Regions from separate parts of the Homo sapiens genome. Here region 1 is linked to region 2. Evidence: promoter capture Hi-C in human tissues and cell types (Jung and others, 2019). All regions are on one chromosome and are shown on one strand. The core of a region is centred on a gene start or on the middle of the fragment in contact, and the rest is flanking DNA. Distances in the headings are between cores, read along the strand shown. Region 1 overlaps LINC00996 (long intergenic non-protein coding RNA 996). Region 2 holds the start of ATP6V0E2 (ATPase H+ transporting V0 subunit e2).

Region 1 (2,700 bases), core at 153-2,652, 570 kb after region 2:
CACGGCTTCATTCGCTTCAGCTGCGAGCTTTTCTCAGCGCAGAGAGCACAGGGAAGCTGGGAGGAGTCCGCCTAGATGGGTAAGGACGGTATTTTTGGCAGCAGTTCCGGGGACCCTCCCCTGATCAGCCTGCACTTCCGCCCTGGGTTGAGGGGAGCATTTCCAGCGAGGGGGCGAAGAGGTGAGAGCAGCTGGGGAGAGCCAGGGGCTGAGGGCCCTTTGCTTTCTGAAGTGTGGCGTCATCACGGGTGCTGAAGGAGACACAGGGTGGCTGCGTGATCAGTCTCTGCCCTGGAATCTCTGTGTTCAGCCCATGTCATCTTCTCAGGAGTGATGGAAGCTCCCACTGGAGAACACTTTCTGGTCTTGAGCCCCCCGATCTCTTGATCCCTATGGCAGTGAGCCCCGACTCTTGCTCTGGTCGCCACTGGATCATCTGTGGGTGTTGGCAGGAACCTGAAGGTGTTGGAAGGGGTTGAGGGTAACGCATAGCCTGTGCTAGAATATGTGGGGGAATGTCCACAGGAGACGGGATGGAAGAGAGAGAAGAGGACGCCCCTGCTTCCAGGGGCAAGTGGGTACAACCAGAGGACGGGACAATGTTCCCCTGGAGAATGGCCCAGGCTCCATCTAGACCTGGCTGGTCCCAGTCCCAGGCTTGTCCTAGGTCCTTGGCATCCGTGCTGGTAGCAACCCCAGGGCCACCCTCAGCGTCTCATGACGTCTACCCTTCTCTGGCCCCTGTAGAAATTATGTTCAAGAGAAAACACCCGGGGGGTCACAATGATAACAATAACACCACCACCTGTGCCCCGTGGGTGTGAGGCTGTCATGGAGAAAGCAGAGCTCCTGAAGGGGCCTCAGCTGAGAAACGGCTAGAATTTCCTGTGTGGGTTGTGGGGAGTGACTATGGAATTCAGAGGCAGAGCGGAATCTACTTGGGCTGTTGTGGCAGGAACCTAGACTCCAGAGGGACCCTGGTTAGGCTCTCAGAGAAGGGAGCCCCGGAAAGTGAGCCAAGGAACGGGCCTTTGTCCCCAAGGCTGGAGCCACAGGCTCTGTTTCCCTGGCCAGAGGCAAGGGGGGCCCTTTGGGGTCTCATGGTTCAGGTGGCCTCTTCTTTCTTAGGCCTCTTCCTCCAGATCCCCACTCCCCCCACGGGGCACAGCCCCATGTGTGGAGTCGGCCTTGACTCTGCCCTTCAGTCTCCCTGCCCAGAGCCGGCTGCACCGGCTGTCATTCCCCAGTCCCGCTTCCCGCAGGCCCCTACCCAGATACTGATGCTGTGGCACCCACCACCACATGGGGGACCCTGGGCAAAGCGTTAGTGCTTGACAGACATTGGGTCCTCCGGTCCCCCTCCAGTGCCATGAGCTAACAGTTGTATCCCCATCACACAGATGACAAAACTGGGAGGCAGCACGGTTCATGAGCTTGTGCAAGTTCACACAGGGCGTGATTGACGGGGCTGGGATTCAGATGCAGTTAGGACACTGCCTTATCTCAGGCTCTGCTGCTCCCCAGACTTCTTGGCCCTGACGCTCCTTTCGAGGTTATGGAACTCTCTTGAATGTCTCTGTTGGCTGCAGCCAGCCAATTAATTACCCTGCATGAATGGGGACTATGGGTGACAGTTTCCGCTGTCCCAAGTTCTGGCTGAAGTCTCCATTCTATTGGGTTAGGGGCCAGATGCCTGAGGACCTGCAGGAGGCCAGGGCTGCATGCTGAATGAGAACTTTACCTGGGCCACCAAGTCCTTCTGAGCACAGGTGCTGCTCCCTGCAGTCAGGACATGCTGGCCGGGGTCTCTGACCTTCACCTGGAATGCTCCTGGAAGCCCCTGTGTGACAATCTCCACCACAGTCAGCTGCAGCCTCACAGGCCTTGTGTCATTTCCCACTATAGGACCAGGGAACCAGGCTGACCAGAAGACCTACGAGGAGAAATAGAAAGCTTGGGAGGTTGAAGTGGAAAGCCAGGTGTCCATTTCTCTGCCTGCAGAATGAGTCCCCAGGGAGCCCAGCGGCCAGGGCAAGGTGTCAGGGGCCCCGTCACAGCTGCGGGAAGGCCACATGGGGGGCAGCTGTGGGCATGGGGCCAGAGCCCAGGAAGCTGTGGCTCTGGGGGAGGGTTTGTGCCCCTGGGATGTCTGAATGCAGCTCTGGGGTGGGGCCAGCCTGGGCCTGGAGCTCCTGCAGGCTGGTCTAGTGCCAGGCCCGGGGGAAGGCAGAGTCAGAGACTGGGGGACTTTGCTTCTGCTCACTGTGTCTCCAGTGTCAGGAGCTGGCTCAGGACTCGTGAATGTCCACATCAGAAGAGGGGCTTAAGCCATGAGGATTGAGGCTTCCCTCCAGACCTGAGTGGGTGGGGAGGGGAGAGGGTGAGGGCAATGGCCACACCTGCTCCATCCACTCCCTGGAATAAAGGAGTGGTGTTTTTTTCATTCCTCACTCACTCATTCTTCCATCCCTGGTGTGCCAGGCCCCGTTTTGGTGCTGGAATAGAGTCATAAGCAAGACAGACATAGTCCCCACCTTCAGAAAGCTTTTGTTTGGTGCAATGGTGTGGAAATGCATCTTGAATATTACAGAGGAACAATTTGGAGTGGAGCTCAAGTCATTCCAGAAACTCCCACTTTTTAAAAATTTTATTTTATTTTGTATTTTTACATACATTTTTTGAGACAAGGTCTTGCTCTGT
Region 2 (2,700 bases), core at 83-2,582:
ATTATGATTTTACCAGAATATATCACTCCTCAACTACTTTAGAAACCCCTCGAAGGCTAGGATGGTATTTTATACCTAACAGTTTGGTGTCATCCCACGCCCACCTCCAACTTACATGAATGTTGGAAGGATGGATAGGGAGGTTTCAACTAGAGAACGGAGAAGGGCGGATGTAACTGGTTCTTGATTTCAGAAAACAGCCAGGAGCACACATGGCTGACGGGGTCAGTGCAAGGACAGGCACATTTCCCTTCTGCATCACGTGGGGACTGCGCCTCCCTATGTCATGAAGCCAGGGAATATGTGTGGCCGGCCGCTTGGGGTAGCACTTGTTGCTAGAGATACCGCCTGGAGGCCACTGATCTGTAAAAGGGATCTCTACAGAAGATAGGGATTTTTGATCGCCAGAGAAGAAGGGATATGTGAGATCCAAACGCCGAAGGAGGAAAGCAGGCTCCGTGGTCTCTTCCAGCCCTGATGGAAGAAACTACCGAGCCTTATTATACTAGGTGCTTTCCACATGCCTATTCATTTAATCCTCCAGCAACCTTGTAAGAAGGGCCATCCCATTTTATATTTAAACAAACCTTAACTACTGACGCAAGGAGTCAAGGATCTAATCCCAAAGCCTCTGCCTGGTTCGCTGCAGATGGATGTCCGCGAGGACGCCAGCCCTCCGCCTCCCGCCGGGTCCCTGAACGCCGGCCCGGCCGGTCCAACCTCATTCCGCTTCCCGCCATCGAAACGCGAAGCCCCCGCCTTCCCCCAAACGTCTCAGCGCCGCTGGGGCCTTTCTGGCTGCGCCGCCTCCGACCCCAGGCCCCGGTCCGCGCCCGCCGCTCGCTAGTCCTGGGAGTGAGGAGAACGCGTGCTGAGGACCCGGCCAGAGGGACAGCGGGGACCGCCCTCCCGCTGCGTCTCTGAAAGCGAGGCCGTTCCTCCCGCGTCCGACCCCCGCGGGGCCGTCAGGTTCGGGGCGGCCCAGGCTGCGGGTCCGCAGGGCGCTTCGGGCCGAGCCGGCGCGGCGCGTGAAGGGCAGGGGACGCCCCGAAAGACCGCTGGGGTGGGACCCCAAGCTCCAGGGGTCTTTGGAAATAAGAATGCGGCGTGACGTTGGCTGTGCGGGCGCGGGGCTGACGCGGACCCTATAACCCATCGCCGAAACCGGGCGGCCGCGCCCCTATTCCTCGGCATTTCTCTCTGTCCGCGGCCCTGCTCAGCCAATCAGCGAGTGGGCTCCTAGGCAGGTCCTGAGTGACAGCGCGGCGGGCTGGATCAGGAGATGCGCGTGCGCGGCCCGGCCCGGCTGATCGCTTCGGGTGCTCGACTCCTGTTGCGCATGCTCAGCGCGCTGCCCGGCTGGGGACCCGCGCACCTGCAGCGCCCGCTGCTCGGCCCTGCATCCTGCCTGGGCATCCTGCGCCCGGCCATGACGGCGCACTCATTCGCCCTCCCGGTCATCATCTTCACCACGTTCTGGGGCCTCGTCGGCATCGCCGGGCCCTGGTTCGTGCCGAAGGGACCCAACCGCGGGTAAGGAAAGCGCGCAGGCCCTGCAGACCTCTCCACCCCGGCCCCCTGGCCCGGCTCGCCCCTCCGCCCCGGGGCGGCGGCTTCCTGCTCTGCAGCGAGCGTCCGCAGGAGGGACGCCAGGACCCCGGACGCCACCTCTGAGGTCTCTCTGCACCTGGGTCTCTGACAGCCGGGAACAGGCAGGAGGTGGGGCGAGAGGGCATATCCAGAAGGTAAAGAGGAGAGTGACATTGGAGATGTCTGTCACCCCTCCTGCAGCCAGTAAAGGGCACAAGTGGGCACTGACGCAGTTTCTCCACTCCTTGCTAGCTGTGTGACCTAGAGCCAATATCAAGTCTCAGTTTCTTCATGGGTAAAATGGAGATAATGTCGACTCCTGCCTTAAAAGGCTGCTGTGAGGATGACCTGCGGTAACGCATTTAAAACACCTACCAGTGCGTGACACTTTGTAGGTATGGGATAAGTTTAGCTGGCGTTATTTTTCGAAGGTCCTCTAGCAGATTGCTGCGCCATTCACCAGTTTCTGCTTCATATTATCTTCAGTTACAAAGCACCCTTCCCTTGACTGCATGTTCCCAGGGGCTGGAGTTTGTCCAGTTCACCATTGTCTACTCAGTGCCCAGCCAGGACTGGCACAACCTGCTTAGTAATGTTGAAAAAGGGATCGCGTGCTCCTGTGTCCAGCACCAGCTTGCAGTGCTTTAGATCAAAGATCAAGGGCCTCGTTTGGATTAGAGTTAGCTTTGCCCAAAGGCCGTTTGGACATGTGAGTGCTGCCTTTGTTCTTAAAGACAGGCAGGGTTTGGGATCCCACAGCTTCACTTTGTAAACCATTTTCGTGTCTTGCGTCTCCTGCTATTCTTGGTGAGTTCTTGCTTCAGTTTGACTGAAATTTCTTTTGCTGCACTTGAAGCATCTGTCTCTGGTCTTCTCTGAGTACACGCAAAGTGGCTAGTCCCTGTTCTCTTTGTAACAACTCACTGGGCCTCAGAACTGGCTCACAGTCTGCCTGCTTCTTGCCCTGTCTTCTAGCCTATTGTTTTCCTTCCCCTTGCTCCATGAATTTTGAATTCTACAGACCACTCCCTGTTGGGTTGCCACAAATGCAGCTCTGTGCAGTGCCTTTCCACAACACGTCTGCATTAAGATGGAGCAATATTGGGTGGT

Evidence for each region. Contacts are between HindIII fragments. The study calls those that stand out against the background at their distance.
Region 1: a fragment that was not itself captured here is called in contact with the fragment with the promoter of ATP6V0E2 in region 2 in 1 of the 25 tissues and cell types used here (mesenchymal stem cells).

The regions. Positions count from the first base shown.
Region 1 is chr7:150,443,082-150,445,781 of GRCh38, forward strand. LINC00996 (long intergenic non-protein coding RNA 996) reads left to right here. Exons shown (of 4, transcript NR_034033.1): 2 at 1-79. Among named protein-coding and RNA genes, the nearest start is that of GIMAP8, 6.2 kb to the right of the region's middle. The HindIII fragment of the contact is 6,263 bases long and covers 1-2,700 here.
Region 2 is chr7:149,872,637-149,875,336 of GRCh38, forward strand. It overlaps ATP6V0E2 (ATPase H+ transporting V0 subunit e2), which reads left to right and starts at 1,333. Exons shown (of 4, transcript NM_145230.4): 1 at 1,333-1,533. The coding sequence starts at 1,430. It overlaps ATP6V0E2-AS1 (ATP6V0E2 antisense RNA 1), which reads right to left and starts at 1,226. Exons shown (of 4, transcript NR_027040.1): 1 at 588-1,226. RefSeq lists silencers at 860-1,069, 1,100-1,179, 1,590-1,769 and enhancers at 1,132-2,100, 1,430-1,569. The HindIII fragment of the contact is 13,669 bases long and covers 1-2,700 here.